Regions from separate parts of the Homo sapiens genome. Here regions 2, 3 and 4 are each linked to region 1. The links are contacts of gene promoters, found by promoter capture Hi-C in blood cells and fetal thymus (Javierre and others, 2016). All regions are on one chromosome and are shown on one strand. Each heading gives the region's core, a stretch centred on a gene start or on the middle of the fragment in contact. The rest is flanking DNA. Distances are from core to core; before and after follow the strand shown.

Region 1 (4,941 bases), core at 56-2,555:
AAAGATAAACTCTGTGTCTCCCCTCCACCAAATAAAATCCTCGGAATAGGAGGTGGAAGGAAGACTTACACTGTAGGAAAAGTTGAAAACCAAAGTTCTACTTTACTTCTCCTAAAGTGAGAACTTTGAAACGGAACCATTACTTTTGTTTCATCCCCCCGCCCAGTAAAAAATTTACATGTATGAGTCAGTTCTTCCCTCGGCCCCAACAGAAAAGATTCAGTATAACCAAGCTATAACTTGCACAAAGCAACAAGGAAAAAAAAACCTTGCTATCCCCATTACTTTCCTAATAGAGCAAGGACCCTACCACCCCTCACTCCATACTCTGCCTCTGCCCCAAGCAAGACGCAGCACCTGCCAAACCAGGCACTTAAGGAATATGGTCCAACTTTTCAAACGCAAACTGGAGAGGAGACGCAGATAATTTCTTGAAGAGTGCAAGAAGACAGCAGAAAAGGTACTCTGAGGAAGGGATGCGTGAGCTTTGGGGCTGTCCCCTCTGCCTGTTGGAGGATTCCAAATTCGCTTGCTTCAGAGACCCTTGGAAGCAGCACACTCAGGTCGCGGCCAGCCTCGGGCCTCGGTGAAGGAGGCAGTGTTTACACCTGTCACGAGGGAGGGGGAAGGAGAGCGAAGAAGCCCAAGCAAAGCCCCAAACTTCTGAACAGCTCCCTGGAGAACGCAGCCAGCGCGGAGCTTTGGGAGGTGGAAGCAAAGGGGCAGGGAGAGCCGGCGGTGGCCGGGGAGGGAAGGACTCCCACTTACCCGGCCGGTGCCCGGGATGGCGAGGAGGGGGCCGTGCGCTTCGGGCGCCACCAGCGGCGTTCCCGCACTCGCCGCAGAAGAGAGCAGAGCCGGGAGCCCGCAGGCCCGCAGAGCCAGCTCCGTCCTCACAGCTCCCGGCTCCGCGGCGGGCAGATGCTCCCGGCCCGGGTGAGGGTCTGGCTGCTGGGCCGGGCCTGGTCCCCGCACCCTCTTTCCCCGGCGCAGCTAGGGGAGCGGAGCGGCGGCGCTTACCTGGCTCCTTCGGGGCGGCTGCGATGGGCATGGCTCAGGGGCCCGGGGAGGAACTGACTCCCCGGGGAAGGACCGTCTATTCCGACGCGGAACTGGTGAGAGCGGAAGGCCGGCTGCTCACAGCCCTGTCAGCGCAGCAGCACCATGGACGCCCACCCGGAGTTTCACCGCTGCCGCGGGACCCCCATCCCACTACCCTCCGCCCTCTTCCGCCGCCGCCGCCGCCTCCTCCACCTCCTCCGCGGAGACCCCCCGCCCACTCCACACACTCTCCCATCATGCAGCGGGGGAACCGCTGCCGCCGACACGTCACTTCCGGGCGCAGGTGGCTAGGTCGGGACCGGGCGCTGGTGGGTGCTGTGGGGTGGGGGAGGACACTCCAGGGGAATTGGTGTCACAGAACGCTTATCCCTGCGCAGGCGCTGTCGTGCAGAGCGCCGACCGCCATTTTGGGTGCGGGCAAGCTGCCCTTTCCTTTTACTTCCTTGCGAGTCATAGAGCTGTAGGGGGATAGACGTCTTCCCGCACTCAGGCGCCGGTTGAGGCTGCGCTCCTGGCGAAGGACAGGTGCTCCTTTCAGCCGGTTAACGTTCAGCTCAAGACCGGATTAAGTCTCTTGCTCTCCAAATAAAATTGTAAAGGTTTGGAAATATAGAACCACATTTTTACCAAAAACCTACTAGAGAGCATTCGTCAGCTTGCCCTTTTCGCCCCGAAAAACGACTTTTTCATTCACAGCCTGTCTCTTCCTCTTTTTAAATTTATGCCGACAGAGGAAGAAGCTGATATTTAACAAATAACAAGAGGTTGCGATAAATAGAATTTAAGGTGGGAAAGCAGCCGCCAAACTGACAAATCGTCTTCGAGACCGACAAGAAAATAGTAGTCCGGAATTTGGCTAATGGATGGAGAAGGTGGTCGTTTTTCATAGACCCTTACGGAGAATATCTAGTGAAGCTAAAGAGATCACCATAAACTTATGCATTCAAACGCATTTCTGGAACAGAGGTCGTAACCGATTTTGTTTCCATCATCAGTCCTGAACAGTTGATTATTTATATAATCAACTGTTATTTATATAAAGGTAATAAAAATATTACCTTTCCTCCTCCTTTACAATGAATATCTGTTAGAACACCTGCCAGTGTAACAATCAGACTACAAGGCTACAGGATTATGATTACTGTCTCGGATGATGAGCCCGGGGTCCTACAAATCATGACCCCCGCCGGCCCCTCATTCTGCCCATATTTGCCAAACGTCTGCATCAGTAATTTGAATAATTTAAAATAGTTCCAAAACAGCAAAGCTCAGCAGTTACGCAAAGAAACAAGAATGGAAAACATCCCCTCAGGCACAGAGAAGTGTCCACCCCTTTGGGTGGAGGAATTATACAAATCAGGAGAAAGATAAGGACAATAGCAGTTCATCACGATTTATCCCGCCTCTGCAATGTTCTAGACAAATTAACTCGGAGCGCTCCAATGGACCCGCATTTGTCTCTTTACTATTCAATCGCTGTAAGATATACGGAGACTGCATCACTTTAAATGGGAGTATCAATTGCTTTGTGGTTATGCTGGATTTTGTGTTATTGCTCAGTCACTAAAGTAAGAAAAATCTATATGGCTTGTCAAATTTATGCCTATTGTATTTCGCCCCCTGCTGGTTTAGCTCGTGTGCAAGCTTGAATTTGTGTGTGTGTAGAAACTAGAAATTGATTTTAAACGAACACATGCTTGTTTTCATTTTACAGCTCTACTAAACAGAAATATCAAAATAAGAACATATGACTAGACCTTAAAGCAGACCCTACACTAAGAACATGTTTAAACTAAATGAATTTAAACTGCACTCCAGCCTGCGCGACAGAGTGAAACCCTGTCTAAAAAAAAATTAAATTAAATTGCACACCCCCCATCAGCTTACAATTTTGTAATAGGGAAATTGAGTACCTATTTGGCCAACTAACTTGTAATTGGTAATCTTACATGTAATTCCGAAGACAGTGCCCTAATGCTCATGACATTTTATTACAAAGGGAAAGTATTTGAGTGTTTTTAAGGTGATAAATCTGTGGGAAATATAAAGTCCATTTCATTTGGAGTCAATGATAGTATTGTTTTTATTTACCTTTTAAAAATTATGGCCATAACTGCATTACCTAAGATTTGGCATCAAGAAAAGAAGAAGAAAAAAATTACCAGTTAACATTTGTTGTATTTACTTCTAGTTTTTTTTTCCTGTGCGTACTTTTTACAAACTTGTAATCATAATTTAAGTAGATTTTGTGTCCCTTTTGTGTTGTAAGCATTTCCACCCATCGTTTAATGTAAAACCTTAATTTTAATTGGCTGCTTAGTAGTCAATGGAATGACCACTATATGGATAGTTTTCAGTATTATAAAATAATACTTAGATGAACATTTTGTGTGTGTGGCTTTGTTCAATTTTAGAATTTTTTTTCTCAGTATAAAAGTTACTAAGCGAAAAGGCAATGAATGTTTTATTGGTAATTTATCATCTCATATTATTTTCCAAGAGACTGCTAATTTAGAATGCCACCAGCAATATATGAGTGCACTAATTTTACCACCTCCTTACCAACCAGCAGTGAATGATAATTAAGAGGGGAAAAAAAGATGGAAAGAATAAAAAGTGAAAACAGTTTAATTCATTTTATATTGTGTAAGAAATTAACAGACAAGCAAGAACAAAACCTCAGCAATGTGTTGGTGTTCTGGAAAAGCAATATGCGTAGAACCTGGGTCTATGACCAGTTCTGTTGTCACTATGATTTTGTATAAGTTACTCAACCTCTCTTGACCTCAGTCTCCTTATATAACAAATGAGAGAATACAGTCAGATCACAGGTTCTCAACCCTCTTAGGACAAATAATGTTTTGGCACATGTATCTCTTTAAGAATACGGTAAAAGCTTTGGCTCTTTCTATAGAAAAATGCTTGTATCCACAGACACTCAAATTTCTCATCCTAAAGCTCATTCACAGAAGAGGGTCTTTGAACCACAGCTTAAGAAATATGCACCAGATAATCGCCAAGGTCCTTTCTGTATCTAAACATTTACTTAAAATTTTATTTATTTATTTATTTATTTATATTTTTATTTTTTTGAGACAGGTTCTCCCTCCATTGCGCAGGCTGGAGTGCAGTGGTGCCATCACGGCTCACTGCAGACTCAACCTCCTGGGCTCAAGGGATCCTCCTACCTCAGCCTCCGAAGTAGCTGGGACTGCAGGTGCATGTCATCACGCTCAGCTAATTTTTTTATTTTTTGTAGAGATGGGGTCTCACTATGTTGCCCAGGTTGGTCTCAAACTCTTGGGCTCAAGCAATTCACCCACCCTGGCTTCCCAAAACGCTGGGATTACAGGTATTATGTCACCACTACCTCTTGAAATATGTCCTTCATACAGTTCTATAAAAATAGGTTATTAGGCTGGGCATGATGGGTGACGCCTGTAATCCCAGCACTTTGGGAGGCCGAGGTGGGCAGATCACTTGAGCCCAGGAGTTCAAGACCAGCCTGGGTAACATGGTGAAACTCCATCTTTACAAAAAATTAGCCAGGTGAGGTGGCATGCTCCTGTAGTCCCAGCTACTCGGGAGGCTGAGGTAGGAGGATCACCTGAGCCCATGAGGTCAAGAATGCAGTGAGTTGTGATTGCGCCACTGCACTCCACCCTGGCTGACAGAGCAAGACCCCTTCTCAATAATAATAATAATAATAATAATAATGAGCGACTTTCCCAAAGTGTGATGAGCAACAGAGATTTTGTTTCTTAATCATTCCCACTGATCTTTCTTGGATTTGCTTATCAAATTTATTGCATAAATAATAAAAATTACAATTTGGTGTTATAGTACTTCCTGGAGTACTGGATATCTAGAACTTTATGG
Region 2 (4,926 bases), core at 53-2,552, 230 kb before region 1:
GTGATGAACACCTCAATTGTGGTCACTTAAGGACCTGTGCAAGAGCTTCTTAGGGGTGCACATTCCCAGGAGTGGAACTGCTGGGTCATCGGGAAAAATACATTCTACCACATTCTATATTTCATTAAGTATTGTTAGTTAATGCTCCAAAATGATTGTACCAGGACTTAACTCCCAATAACAAAGCAGGAGGATTCAAATTTCTTCCTATCCTAGGCAACACTTGATATTACTAAACTTTCACGTTTGCCTATTTAATAGATGTAAATAAGTATTTTGGTGTTTTTATGTACAGTTATCTGATTATAAGTGAGGTTGGATATCTCTTCATCTACTTGTTAGTCTCTCAAGGTTCCCTTCTATAAATCTGCCTGTTCATATCCTTTGGCTATTTTTCTATTGCATTTCTTTTTTTTCTCAGTTATTTGTAGGAATTCTTAATACTGTATATTCTAGATATTAATCTTTTGTTGGCTTCAGCCTTTGAAAATACTTTCCAATCTATCAACTTTCTCTAAACTTGTTTATGATGTTTTTTGTTGAACAGAACAGTTTAAAATTTTGATGTCATCAAGTTCATCTTTTTTTGATTTTATAGTTTATGCTTTGAGTCTTGTTTAAATGCTTTTCTTCTTTTTTCTACCCTAAGATTACAAAGCTATTCTTCTATTTTTAATTTCTATTAGTTTTACCTTTTACTTTTAGGTTTTTTTTTGTTGTTGTTGTTGCTAATGTAGAGCTCACCTTTGCATATGGTATGAGATAGGGGTTTAATTTTATATTTTTCTCACAGTGAATCAATTTCCCCAACATTATCTATGAAACCAAATCTCTGTGTTAGATTGGATTATTGTTCCCAATCCTTCTTGTTCTCCTGGCTCTACAATTATACACCTGTGCCTTTTGGCATGAAGTTTTGCATTACCTTCCACTATTGATGTTCAACTTGGCCATATGACTTGTTTGGCCAATGGAATGTTGGTGAATATGATGAGAGGAGAGGTGTTAAATGTATTTGAATGATTTGGCTTGACCTCTTGCCAGAAGGAGACATGTGGTGAAGACTTGAATCTGACCTGCATCCTGGAGCCAAGTCCAGCTGAATTCAGCTGAACCCAACCAAGTCTTAAGGAGCCCAGATGAGATGAGCTGAATCTCAGTTCATATACAGACCCATAAGGGAGAAAAATAAATGACTACCATAAGCCACTGATAAGTTGGGATTATCTGTTACATAATATTATTATTGCAGCAAGCAATAGCTGACTAACTCAACATGATTTCCTCATGGATTTGTGGTGTTACCATGATCACATATCAGATTCTCTTATGTAAATGGGTTGTTTCTGAGTTCTCTATTCTGTTTCATGGTTCTGTATGTCTGCTACTATAAAAAATGACCGACTTATAAAGAAATTTAGTCTTCCATGTGCATTTTAGAATACGTTTAAATTCCCCAAATCTTGCTACAAGTTTGGTTTGCATTGAATTTATAAACACATTTAGAGATAATTGAGATCTTAATAACGTTACATCATCTTATCCATAAACATTATATATACCTCTATTTGGGTTTCCTTTGAATTCCTTCAATAAATTCAAATATGTTAATTCCTGGATACTTTATAGTTTTGTTGCTTTTATAAATAGTATCTTATTTTCTAGTTTGTTAGTGTAAGTGTGAATGAATACTTTCAGTTTCCATGAATTGATTTTCTTTTTCTTTTTTTTTTTTGGCGACCAAGTCTCACTTTGTTGCCGAGCCTGGAGTGCAGTGGCGTGATCTCGGCTCACTGCAACCTCCGCCTCTGATCCTTCAAGCAATTCTCATGCCTCAGCCTCCTGAGTTGCTGGGACTCAGGCATGCACAACCACACCAGGCTAATTTTTGTATTTTTAGTAGACACAGGGTTTTTCATCATGTTGTCCAGGCTGGCCTCTAACTCCTGACCTCAGATGATCCACCTGCCTTAGCCTCCCAAAGTGTTGCCACTGTGCAGGGCCATGAATTGATTTTCTATTTGGGAATCTTGCTATATCAGTTGGGATTAGATTTGGCTATAGGTAATGCAAACACACAAACACAAACTGAAATAAAAGTGTCATGATGAGACAGAGGTTTATTCAAGAAATTCAAGAAGTTTGGTGAGTAGATAACTCAGGGCTGGTACTGTTATATCAGGTGTCTTCTGTTTTGTTGCTCTGCCATGTGTGGCTTCCCTATCCAAGGTCAGCTTATGATCTAAAATGACTGCTAACACTGCAGCCATTATGTCTGCATTCCAGATAACAGGAAAGAGGATGAAGGCACACTTTCTCCCTTTAAGGATGTATGCACTACTTCTGCTTACAACCCGTTGCCTGGGGCATGACAATACTTAGCTGCAAGGGAGGCTGGCAAATGTTGTTTTTATTCTGGTTGGCCCTGTGCCCTGCTAAAAAACCTAGTATTATGGAAGAAGGGGAGAACAACATCTCTGTCACCTTGCTGAACGCTTATTATTTCTAATAGCTTGCTATTTCTATTGGATGTTTTACGTGGTTGATCGTATTACCGCAAACAATCCAAATTTAGTTTCCTTCCTTCTAATTCTTCTATTTCCTCCTCCTTTAAAAAATATCATTCTGTTAGCCAGAACTTTCAGCGTCATATTAAATAGTAGAGGCAACATTATCTTGATCTCAAACTTATGTGGAATGTGTTTAAAGTTAATCCATTAAGTAATGTACTTGCTGTACATTTTGGTCCTTTATGAGGTTAAGTAAATTTCCTTCTATTCCTAATCTTATAAAAGTTTTTATCATTAATAAGTTATATACTCTCTCAAATGCTTTTTCTTAGTCTTTTGAAATGGATTATATTGATAGACTTTCTGATGTTAAATCATACTTGAATTTCTGGAGTAAAGTCTACCTAATTTATTATGTTTTCATGATAGAGGACTAGATAGGTGGCTAGTCAGATAAATGCATTCTAAAGACAGGGAAATACGTTTTAAGGTTTCTCCTAGCTCACTGTAATAAGCATGTTGGATTTAGTTTGCTAGTATTTTACCTATAATTTTTGCATCTATGTTCATAAGTGAAATGGGCCTATTCTTTTCTTGATCTGTTCTTTTTTCAGATTGAGAATCTAATTTGGCTGTGTAGGTTTAAAAAAAGTTTTTCCCTCAACCTTCTTTTGCTCACAATGGCCTTTTTCTTCATTTGTTTTGTAATTTGGATTGTGAGCTCATGTTTGCCTAGGCTTTATATGTAGAAATTCTATGAGGTCTGGGTGGAATCCTTTATCCTTGATAGAGGATTTGCTTTTGCTTCCTGATCTATGTGGGTAGTATATGTTCAAATCTGTTTAAAAGGAGCTTGGCTCACGCCTGTAATCCCAACACTTTGGGAGGCCGAGGTGGGTGGATCACGAGGTCAGGAGATCGAGACCATCCTGGCTAACACAGTGAAACCCCGTCTGTACTAAAAATACAAAAAAAAATTAGCCGGGCGTGGTGGCAGGCACCTGTAGTCCCAGCTACTCGGGAGGCTGAGGCAGGAGAATGGCCTGAACCCGGGAGGCGGAGCTTGCAGTGAGCCGAGATCTCGTCACTGCACTCCAGCCTGAGCGACAGAGCGAGACTGATCAGCTACAATCATAAATATATAAATAACAATAAAAAGGAAATCTTTTATTATGACATACTGTTTGTTTTTCAGATTTTAAAAAAGACATCCAACTCATAATCACAACAGATTAGAAAGTAGAGATAAGCAAGAGGAAAACTATATAGAAATGAACCAAATTCTGCTTATCTCTGACAAACACACTTAAAGCCTCCCTACACGTTTCCTCAGGTTCCTGTTTTAATGTTGCATGTGTGTACTTTTGAGCCTCTCAAATAGATTGTAAGCCATTTGAGACACCAAAAATCTCATATAGTACTTTATCTTTTAAATAACCATCACAGCCTTAGTACATCACTATTACATCACTAGTATACTACCAGTACATCACTAGTACATCTCACTGTTTGGAAGAAAAATGACAATAATACTATAATACTATAGTTGTTGAAATTAATACATTGAAATTTGCATTTTGAAATGTTCCTACATAGAAAAAATTCTGTCTCTGTGTATTTTAAGATCATAAACTAGTAAGCTTCTCACATATTACAATTCATATACAACATCAATTACAGTGATTTTTTTTTCAGGCATATATGATCTTTATTTGACTTGCCCATACTTCTTAGTGCTGTAGTTATGAGGTATGCTCATGTTATTTATAGAAGACTATTGGCCATCTTCATCCTCTTTTTTAGGGATCACTCCTTCCCCGCAAGGCCTGTGTGCAAGCAGTGTAGAAGGGGAAGTGAGCACAAAAATGAGAGGTAGAAAATATAGGCCGGGCGCGGTGGTTCATGCCTGTAATCACAGCACTAAGGGAGGCCGAGGTGGGCAGATCACAAGGTCAGGAGTTTGAGACCAGCCTGACCAACATGGTGAGACTCCGTCTCTACTAAAAATACAAAAATTAGCTGGGCATGGTGGCGCGCGCCTGTAATCCCAGCTACTCAGTAGACTGAGGCAGGAGAATCACTTGAACCTGGGAGGCAGAGGTTGCAGTAAGCCGAGATCGTGCCACTGCACTACAGCCTGGGTGACAGAGCGAGACTCCGTCTCAAAAAAAAAAAAAAAAGGGAGAAAGGAAATAGAAATAGATACACATAAGAAAGGAAGAGGAGGAAAGGAAGAAATAAACAGGGGGTCTCAAATTTTCAAAACAAAGGAATAAACAAGGGTTCTCAAATCAAATATTTATTTTAGTATTTTAATATTTTAAAATGTTAATATTTATTCAAGTCACCTGGGATATTTGTTTAAAGAGCAGATGTCCAGGTAGAGCCTACAGAGATGATAACTCAATAGGTTTCA
Region 3 (4,825 bases), core at 807-3,306, 160 kb after region 1:
GCTGGCATGGTGCATAGTCAGTTCAAGTCAATTCAGTCTCTTTGAAGATGTCCGTGGAACTTCACAGCCACACTACATTAAGTCTGCTTCCAGGAGCTGACCCTGAGATAAGGGTTTGTGCACATGTGGTTATGAAGGCTGTGCTCCCACGAAAATCGCAAGGGAATGTGGACAGTGGAACAGAAAAGGAAAGCAAGGGGCTACCTCAGGTGAAGTCAGCAGCAGCCTGGCCCCTGAGGAGCTCTGGAGTAGAAATGACACCTTAGAGTTTGTTCCACCTTGAGGCAAGCGAGCTGAGTGTCATATGGTTATCAATCATTGGCTGCAGGTGGCCTCGAGGGTTCATACATTCCCAGCCTGTCTGCTCCTGAAGGGTGAAAGTGGCTCTGTTAGCTTGAGGACAGGACTGTTAGGGAGCCACAGGGGCAGGTTGTTCCCAGCAAAGCTCCCACAGCTGGCGGGGGTGGGCTGTGGGGAGGGTTTTGAGTGGATCTGGCCGGGGCACTGACAGAGTGTGTGGACGCGAAGGGCAGCTACAGCATCTCCCTTGGAAATCAGCCGGCGTGGGCTGGGGCTGGCAGCAGATGACAAAGGGCTCTGAAACTGTGGCAGGGAGGATCTGTCAGAGTGGGGAGATTGGGTAGTTTAGAGATCATTATGGGCATCCCCTATAAGACTTCTCAATATCAAGCTTTAAGTGGAACCAACAGATTTGCATGGCAAAGTTCAAGGTGTTGTTTTCCAGAATCATCACATTTCTCCTTCCCACTCTGTTCCTTCGCCTTCCTCTTATCATCAGGCTTTTTCATTCTACGGAATTCCTGTGTCACCTGCTGTTTGGACCACTCTCTGGCTGCTCACAGTGCCTTGACGTCCTCACAGGGTTAGTTCCTGATGGTTGTTATGCACGCAGCTGTGGAGATGAACTTGGATTTGATGCTCAGCTCAACCACTTACTGTGTATCTTGAGCAAGTTACTTAACTCTGGTAAGCCTCACTTTGCTCTGTAAAATATCATAATAGGAGGACCTACTTCACATGTAGTGTGAGAATTAAAATAGATAATTCACGTTAAGTGCATAGCAAGGTATCCAGCATGGTTTGCGCTCAATAAATGTCAGCTGTTGTTTCCAAATAATTGTCGTTATTCTTGTGTGCAGACAAGGTTTCCACACATATCTTGGTTCTGTCTGAGGGCAGGCACCAGATACGGTACCATATGCACTTAAGTAGGTGTTCATATGTGCATGGGGTTTACACACAGAAAAATCTGGGCAAGGAGAGAAGCCCATAGGTTCAGGACCCCTCAATCAGCAAAGCCTAGGATATCCACATTCCTCATGCTGGAGCTACCGCCCTGATATCAGAGCACAACATACACAGAGACAAGTGCCCCCTGGTGCCATCCTGCCTTTTTTACTATGCCAGCACCAACAGCCTGATGAGGGAGGCTCCCCTGCCTGAGGGAGAAATGTTCTCCAGGAGGAAATATAAGGCTTGGCAGGAGAAGGCAGTGGAAAGGAGGCTGGAGATCAGGCCATCAGGGAGGGCAGGGAGCAAGGCTCCCACGTGTTCTGCTTTGCCTGGGACAGCTGTGAGCCAAGTCTCAGGCTAGTCAGAGAACAAGCAGGTTCGACTCTGCGTTTCCAGGCCAGCCCATGCTGACTCAAACGTTACTCAGTCCTGGGCGGGGTCACCTAGCTCTCTCTGAGTCTGCCTTATTAGAGCCTTAGCAGTCCCCAGACTGGCTTCCCTGTTTAAAGCCCATGCTTGTCACTCTTTCCACTGCCACAGAGAATGGGGCTGAGTGTGCACGGCACTGGCTACCCGCTCCATGGGCTGCTGCCTCTGCCAAAGGGAAGATAAGACTTCCCTTCATCCACAGCTGCTGCCAGTGAGACACACTCAGGTAGGGGTGGCGCCCAGCCTCAGAGAGTGCTTTCAGAGTGCCAGGGAGAAGAAGGAGGCAACACCGCATGCATCTTGCTGCAAATAAACAGAATCCACCCTGGAGAAAGGGATGAAACAGGGGGTTGTGTGAGTAGTCCAAGGTGGGCAGGAAGTGGGCGTGTTGGTAGCAGGCAGCTGAGCTCTCTGAGGGCATTCTGGCCATTTTGCATAAGCATCACAAAACCTAGGAAACGTATGGTCAGTCAACCAGGAAAAGCCGAGAAAAAATGAGACACAGCTGCTTGTCAGATGTTACACACATGCTCAGTGTGAGAAGCCCTGCCAGTGACACACACACTCATATATGCACACACACACTCAGGCACACGCACTTGCATGTGGCATCAATGTCCATGTTGGAAGATGAAGGATGGCCACTAATAATACTCCCCTTTACCTTCCAAGTTTTCAGAAAACCAAATAATTTGTAGTCTTGTTCTACATGCACAGGCTGGTCTAACCTAGACAACCCCATTCCAGGTCTTTGTGGCAGAATGATGTTAGAACTCACCCTCTCAAGGCCTTCTAGGAACAGTGGGAAGTTAAAACTGTGGGGAAGACAGTGGGAGGTAGATGAGTCAAACCTTTTGTGGTCATGGACAACTTTAAGAATCTGATTAAAATTGAGGGGTTCTCTCTCTTTAGAGAAATGTGCATAGAGTGTATTTGTACAATACTGACATGTGACTCCAGGGGGTCATGGATCTCCCTCCCCAAGAGCCATGTATGAGTCCCTGGTTAAAACACCCCATTGTGAAGGATTCCGAATAGGAACTGAGCTAAACAAAGGCAAAGCACCAATGATGCTGGCGTCTCCAGCCACCACCCCCAGAGTCCCCATCTAAGGGATGTCATCCTGAGACTCAGAGAGTGACAGATGACAATGTCAAACCAGTGACACATCTCAAAGAGAAACCATCCATAATGCTTTCTCAGAACCACCCATTAGGTTCCAGACCTTCCAGTGTTCAGGGTACCACATTCCTAGGCCAGTAGGAGAGCAGGTGTGGAATGGCTGGATGAAACACCTTGAGGTGACAGTCCCCCCACCATCACAAATAGGAAACCAGCCTATTGTGGGGAGTTTCCCTGCCTTGTTGGAGGAGGCAGCAGCAGAACAATGGGAGTGTGGAGAAGAATCCCACACGGAGTGCCCTGTATGGGAAACTTGGAGACAAGCTCAGAATGAACTGTGATGCAGAGTGCACACTGACATGCCACTGCAGGTGCATCTCAGAAGGTGAACTCAAGGGCACGGGGACTGGGGCAACTGTCTACTTCACCTTGCTTCATGTTCATCCATTCACTGAGCTATCATTTATTGAGCTCCTGTGATGTACTAGACACTGGAGAAACAGACGCAATGACATGGCCCCAGTCCTCAAAGAACTCACAGTCTATCAGGGGAAACACAGCCCTACACTGCACATGATGAGGCAGTGCCATCTGATGAGTGCAAGCCCAAGCTTCTCTCTGAAGCTGAAATTATACTGCTGGAAATCGGCATGTGTTGAAGAAAAAAACCTTGTGCAGTTTGTGCCAGCATAGTCCAGAGTAGGACTCTCAATCTTGGCTGGGTATTAGAATCACCTGGGAGGTTTTGTTAACCTATCAATGACCAGACCATGCCCCAGATGAAGTAAATCAGAGTTTCTGGGTAAGGTCTCAGTCATCAACATTTTTTAAAGCCCTCCAGGTGATTCCAACATGTAGCACAATTGAGAACCTCTGGCCAGAGCTTCACATTCTCCTCTTGTGTGTACTATTATCCCAGTGTTCCCTGAATGGAAGCATTCATGATTGAGGAGTTTAGGACCTTAGGGAACAGCCAGGATGGGGTTGGACTCGTGAGTAAATTGACTTAAGCAAAAAGAGCTTTCAAACATTGTTTTATGTTCATGTAACTCAGTGACCAGTCCACTACTGACATCTTCAATTTCTCCAGGCTTGATTGATGCCATGAACACAGAGAGGGATCATGGTTTGTCTTGCTTACATCTAAGGCCCAGAATCAACTCTTCTGGATTGAATGACGGTTAATGATCTCTTTCCTTCAGGCGGAACTTTCTTTCCATCCCTACCTGAAAGGGTATAACCTGGTCCCATAGTCCCAGCAGAACAGTCATCATAATTTAGGGAGCATTTCCCAGCATTCCAGGAAATATGTAGGATGTGGACGTTTGTTGGTGTTGAGGTGCAGAAGGCAGTGATTCAAAATATCACAGAACCAGTAGGAAAAGGCAGTTCAGTAGGAATTCGCTCAGGGAAAATGACACACAGCTGCCTGTCAGGATACTGTACACATAGAACTCCAGGTGCCACACACACACACACACACACACACACACACACACACACAGAGAGAGAGAGATTTTATCAGCAGGCAGCATCATCCAGAACAAAGGCAGCAAGAATAAATTCCTTTAATTCCCAAATGCTCAGAAATGCCTATCGGCCCTTGGTTTGGATGGGTTAAACTTGGAGATTCATGAGACATTGAACTGAGAGAAGCCACATAGAGTTGTATGAGCCAGTCTTGCGCTGGAAAGGTCTGGGTTGGTGAGTGACATTTGGGAGTCAACAGCATAAAGAGGGTGTTTCAATCCCCAGACAAGGATGAGGTGCCTCAGGTAGAAGAGACTAAGGAGGGCAGAGGCTGGAACCAAATCCTGGACTGCTTGGGCTATTAAAAGCTGGGTAGAGGAGACTGGGCAGACATGGTGGTGAAGGAGAAGGGACACCTGGAGAGGGGTTGGCCCAGGAGGCAAGCAGGGGTCCAGGAGGAGGGAATGGGCAGGGGGAGAAGACTAGGACAAAAACATGACCACTGGATTTGGCAACAGGGCAGTCACTCGGGCTTGAACAGGGCTATTTC
Region 4 (4,858 bases), core at 2,269-4,768, 190 kb after region 1:
TGAGATTGGTGAACTTGAAACAGAGGAAGAACAAAACTGTGTGTATGAAGTATATTAATAATTATTTTTAAAACTATACAGTGGGTAGGATTTACATACAATGAAATATTATTTAGCCTTAAAAGAGAAGGAAATTCTGACATGAGTGAACCTTGAGGATATCATGCTTAGCAATGTCAATCACAAAAGGACAAATATTTTATGATTCCACTTACAGGAGGCACCTGGAGTAGTGAAATAATAAAGACAGAAAGTAAAATGGTAGTTAGTTTTCAGGGGTTGGGGAGAAAAAGGAATGGAAAGTTAGTGGGTACAGAGCTTCAGTCGCGGAAAAAGTTCTGGAGATGGATGGTGGTGATAGTTGTACAACAATGTGAATGCACTTACTGCCACAGAACTGTATACTTAAAAATGGCTAAAATGGCCAATTTTATGTTATTTATATTTTATCACAATATTAAAAATATCTAGGCCAGGAAAAAAATAAAAACACACAGTCGTAAATAAGAGCACAGATTCATTTCGCTAAAAAGTTGTTCGGCCCGGCTTTGCGGGTGATGAGGCTGGAGGTGTCTGCATGGCCTGATGAGAAAGCACTTGTATTCTGGCCTAAGGAGTTTGCATTTTGCATGTCCTGAGGACAATAAGGAGTAACAGGATCCATTTTGTTAAAAAACAAAATTCTGGAAACAAGAAAAGAATGGACAGAAGAGGCTTGGGTGGGCAGGGAAAGAAGAGGGAGATCTAAACTCTGACTTTTTTTTTATCTTCCCCAAATTCCTACCTAAGGGGCCTCGGGAGTCACACCCTACAAACCATACAGTCTCATCAGAGGGTTTTTTGTTTGTTTGTTTTTGTTTTTTTGAGACAGAGTCTCGCTCTGTTGCCCAGGCTGGAGTGCAGTTCTGTGATCTTGGCTCACTGCAACCTCCACCTCCCAGGTTCCAGCGATTCTGTGCCTCAGCCTCCCAAGTAACTGGGATTACAGGTGTGTGCCACCACACCTGGCTAATTTTTGTATTTTTAGTAGAGACAGGGTTTCACCATGTTGGCCAGGCTGGTCTGGAACCCCTGACCTCAAGTGATCCACCCACCTCAGCCTCCCAAAGTGCTGAGATTACAGGCGTGAGCCACCGTGCACTGCGTAGAAGGATTTTTATTTAACCCCCCTATATAAGGTGGTCTGCTTTCCAACCTGGCTCTGGCATAACATCACATAACAAATAAGGAAGGAAATATAAATATTTAAACCCCAAATATATTTTCTTGCCATATCTTGAAATTGCCTGGCAAGGTTGTCTCTTGTGGGAAAAATCTATGGAGAATCTATAGAGATTCTATGGAGATTTCCCTTCCCCTCCCCTCCTTTTTCCTCTTTCTTTCCAGACCCAGGAGATACTCAACTAAGAGCCAGGTAACCTTTTAAGTGGGATAAGAAACATTTTACAACCTGCTCTCTCTGAAGTCTGCTGAAAGCTTCTTCAGAACAATAAAACTTGGTCACCACCATCCTTTATCTTAACCTAAACATTTCCTTTCTATTGGTCCCAGGTCTTTAGATAAACTCAACCAATTGTCAACCAGAAAACTTTAAAATCTACCTATAAGCTGGAAGCCCCCACCTCTCCCCCACCTACAAGTTGTCCCACCTTTCTGGAGCAAACCAATGTATTTCTTAACTGTATTTGATTGAAGTCTCACGTCTCCCTAAAATGTATAAAACCAAGCTGTGCCCTGACCACCTTGGGCACATGTTCTCAGGCCCTCCTGAGGGCTGTGTCATGGGCCATGGTCACTCATATTTGGCTCAGAATAAATCTTTGCAAATATTTTACAGAGTTTGGCTCTTTCTGTCAACAAGGAGTATTAGAGGGTACCTCTTGGAAGAGAACCTGGGTGCTGGGGGACAGGGGTGGGAAGGAGACCTATTTTTTACTATAAATCCTTTTGTTGGATTTCTACATGTATGTTCATTTCCTATAAAACGATAATTGTGTTTATTTTTAAAAGAAAAGCTCTTCAAGCAAATATGAGGGAAGAGAAGTACTTTCCCAAAGTGTGGTGGAAGGGAAGGGGGAGAGTTTGTGATGGGGTGGGGGTGATGGGCCTGAACTTCATCCAAGCCTCTGAGGACCCGAGGAGCAGAAACTTGTGGGGATGTGAGCTAGAAGGTGAAGCCCACCGGTTCCTAGGTGACCTCTCTCTGACTTCATGGGCCATGGAACAGGCTGTCTCCGTGGTAATCTCAACAATGCTCAAGGCAGTCAGTGCCTGGCAACTTTGGACTTAAGAGTATCCGGTAGGTGCAAAACATCAGCCAGGCACTTGGTGCCCAAAGCCTTTGATTACACCCCAGCTGGACATCTAGAGCCTGGACGTCAGCTTGGGGAAAACCACTTCTTATGCAGAAAGTAAAGCCCAGCAAAGGCCACCAGGTATTCCTAACAGGAATACACCTAACAGGGCCTTTCCTCCCCCTCTTCCCAGCCCCACCAACTCCTTCCCCACTCTTTGCCCTACAGGGAACCTCTGCACGGCCAAGCTAGGATATTGGGTTTCTGGACTCTTGCTAGAACTTCTCTGAGTCATTCATTTTCTTTTTATTTATATATACTGTGTTGCCTCAACTATATTGCACCATTTAGTCTCAGGTCTCTGGGAAAGAGAGGATCTCACAACAGAAACATTTTTCCAGAAAAACCCTGAGAGGGGGCTGGCCTCTTTGAGGGCTTAAATGTCTCTGCGACGTCACAGAGGCATGCCAATTTCTGTCTTAGTCCATTCGGACTGCTCTAACAAAAATAGCACAGACTGGGTGGCTTAAACAGCAGGCACTCTTTTCTCACAGTTCTAGAGGCTGGAAGTCCAAGATCAAAGTGCCAGCAACAGGCCTTGGGAGGGCCTGCCTCCTGGTTCATAGATGGCCATCGTCTCCCTATGTCTTCACACGGTGGAAGGGGCAAGGAAGGCTTCCCCACACACCTGCCCTTTACTCTGCGGAGCCCAGCTTCCTACTGCAGTAAACTCTCACATGGCCAAGAAGGTAAAGGTCTGCTCAGGGCATTCACCTCCTTTCAGTGGTTCTCCACATTCAGCCCAGATAGACTCAGCCAACAGGAAACCCATTAACCAAAAGCTTGTGTTCTGTTTGGCCTCTTACACATCAAAGGGAACATAACAGTGAAAATTATAATAAGCAACAATGATCATCATCATTTCCAAGAGACAACATCAGTGCCAGCAGTTCCAATGAGACCCTGGGGTGTCAGTCACTGTATCTGCAAACAGAAAATGCAACTCACCTGCCTCTCCAGGCATCAAGAGTGCTCATAACGCTTAGAAAACTGTAAATAGCTTATAACTGCCAGTTGCTGCTATTGTTCATAAGTGCTTTGGGGTCACAGCTCTCGAAATAATGAGAAGGTGTGCTCTCGGCAATGAAATTAAACAGGCATTTCAGGGCAACCTCAGCTCAGATCCCTGGAGAAAAAAAGAACCTACAGCTTACCTCCAGAGGGGCACTGAGGATCATGTTTCACCCTGAGAGGGGGCTGGCCATGGAAGGAAATGACCTGAGGTCGGGGTGGGCCTCCATTCTGCGGGAGAGGGCAGGGAAGATGCTTGGCTGCTCTCACAAAGGAGCTTCTAGGATCTGCCTCTTTTTTTTCCTCACCTCCTCCTAAGGGAAAAAGTTGTTTTCCTTCCTGCGCCTCAGGGCAGAGCAGAAGTTGAAATGGACTACTTGTTCCTAATATTATTTACAGTTCAGCAAAGGACTTGGGGTCTCCAGCCTCAGGTCTAGAAACTCCTTCCACAGCCACACCCTGAAAAGGACTAGGTTAGCAGCAAAGCTGGGGCTCCTGAGATAGTATGCGATCTTCTGGTGGCGCTTTAAGCTTGTGGTATAAACTGAGGTGGTCTCAGGTCTCTGGGAAAGAGAGGATCTCACAACAGAAACATTTTTCCAGAAAAGGGCGCAGCTTTAGAGTTGCCTTAATAACATGGGATCTAGCGCCACCTAGTGCCTGCTGCGGAGCTTGACATGGGTCTTGCTCTGATAAGGTGGTTTTGGTTTTTTTGGAAATTGGCTTTAACCAAGAGAGAGACCGAAATGGAGAAACACGTTTTCTGCACACAGGGCTGTCCTCATGCCCACGATGAGGGACTGAGAGTTTGGTGGAAGAAGCTGAAAAGCTACAATCTTAATGTGTCACGGACGGGGGTGTTGGGTGAGGGGATGGGGGAGTCTTTCTCTTGGAAGGAAGCTGGGGTGACTCACAAGTAATATTTAGAGTCTTAGTCCCAGAAGATTGGCTTGGATTTGTCTGCATGAATATTTTTGCTCACACTAGAAAAAAAATACTGGTGCTATTTTATGACTTCTATGCTTTTCAAACTAGTTTCTCAGAGCTCTCCCAGAGCCAGCATAGGGGCTGCTTACAAAAAGCCCTTGGAAGCTGCTTCACTGTGGAATCCACTCCCGCTCCTTGCTACTGCCTACAGGACAAGCAGCCCTCCTTTTTTGTCCTGCCACTGTCTGGCTGCCCTCTAACCCTCTACTAATTAAAGCCACCATTTGCTATTTGTTTAACGTGATTCATTTCAACCTCAGAACAGCCAAGGCAGTGGATATTGGTAATCTCAACTGATCTTTAGGGAGGTTACAGGACTTACTCAAGATCTTTCAGCTCATAAGCAGAAGTGGGATTTGAACCCAGAGTTATTGAGCTCCAAAAAATTTGTTCATTTCACTACAGTACTCCATCTGCACTGCTAGGGGTAGTGGCTATTGCAGAGGATGCTACAATGTCCAGGAGGTTCCAGGAGGTTCTTGAGGAGACAAAGAACCTCTGAACTA

The links. The method cuts DNA at HindIII sites, captures the fragments that hold promoters and counts their contacts. A CHiCAGO score of 5 or more calls a contact.
Region 2: a fragment that was not itself captured here is called in contact with the fragment with the promoter of AFTPH in region 1 in 1 of 17 cell types (neutrophils); the score reaches 5.7 in neutrophils.
Region 3: a fragment that was not itself captured here is called in contact with the fragment with the promoter of AFTPH in region 1 in 1 of 17 cell types (megakaryocytes); the score reaches 5.2 in megakaryocytes.
Region 4: a contact is called between a fragment that was not itself captured here and the fragment with the promoter of AFTPH in region 1, in 16 of 17 cell types (megakaryocytes, M2 macrophages, naive CD4 T cells and 13 more). The highest score is 30.4, in megakaryocytes.

Annotation. Positions count from the first base shown.
Region 1 is chr2:64,520,692-64,525,632 of GRCh38, reverse strand. AFTPH (aftiphilin) reads right to left here and starts at 1,305. Exons shown (of 10, transcript NM_203437.4): 1 at 1,021-1,305. It overlaps AFTPH-DT (AFTPH divergent transcript), which reads left to right and starts at 1,478. Exons shown (of 1, transcript NR_136167.1): 1 at 1,478-3,444. MIR4434 (microRNA 4434) reads right to left here and starts at 120; the gene lies at 68-120. RefSeq lists enhancers at 426-926, 927-1,427, 1,529-1,748 and silencers at 799-1,048, 1,059-1,138, 1,169-1,328. The HindIII fragment of the contact is 6,179 bases long and covers 1-2,708 here.
Region 2 is chr2:64,753,682-64,758,607 of GRCh38, reverse strand. It overlaps LOC105374777 (a long non-coding RNA gene), which reads left to right. Exons shown (of 6, transcript XR_940177.3): 6 at 794-1,619. Among named protein-coding and RNA genes, the nearest start is that of SERTAD2, 100 kb to the right of the region's middle. The HindIII fragment of the contact is 5,701 bases long and covers 1-4,152 here.
Region 3 is chr2:64,357,042-64,361,866 of GRCh38, reverse strand. No RefSeq gene overlaps it. Among named protein-coding and RNA genes, the nearest start is that of MIR4433B, 19 kb to the right of the region's middle. The HindIII fragment of the contact is 2,725 bases long and covers 694-3,418 here.
Region 4 is chr2:64,330,210-64,335,067 of GRCh38, reverse strand. LOC105374769 (a long non-coding RNA gene) reads left to right here and starts at 2,289. Exons shown (of 3, transcript NR_187908.1): 1 at 2,289-2,435; 2 at 2,849-3,043; 3 at 4,401-4,587. The HindIII fragment of the contact is 760 bases long and covers 3,139-3,898 here.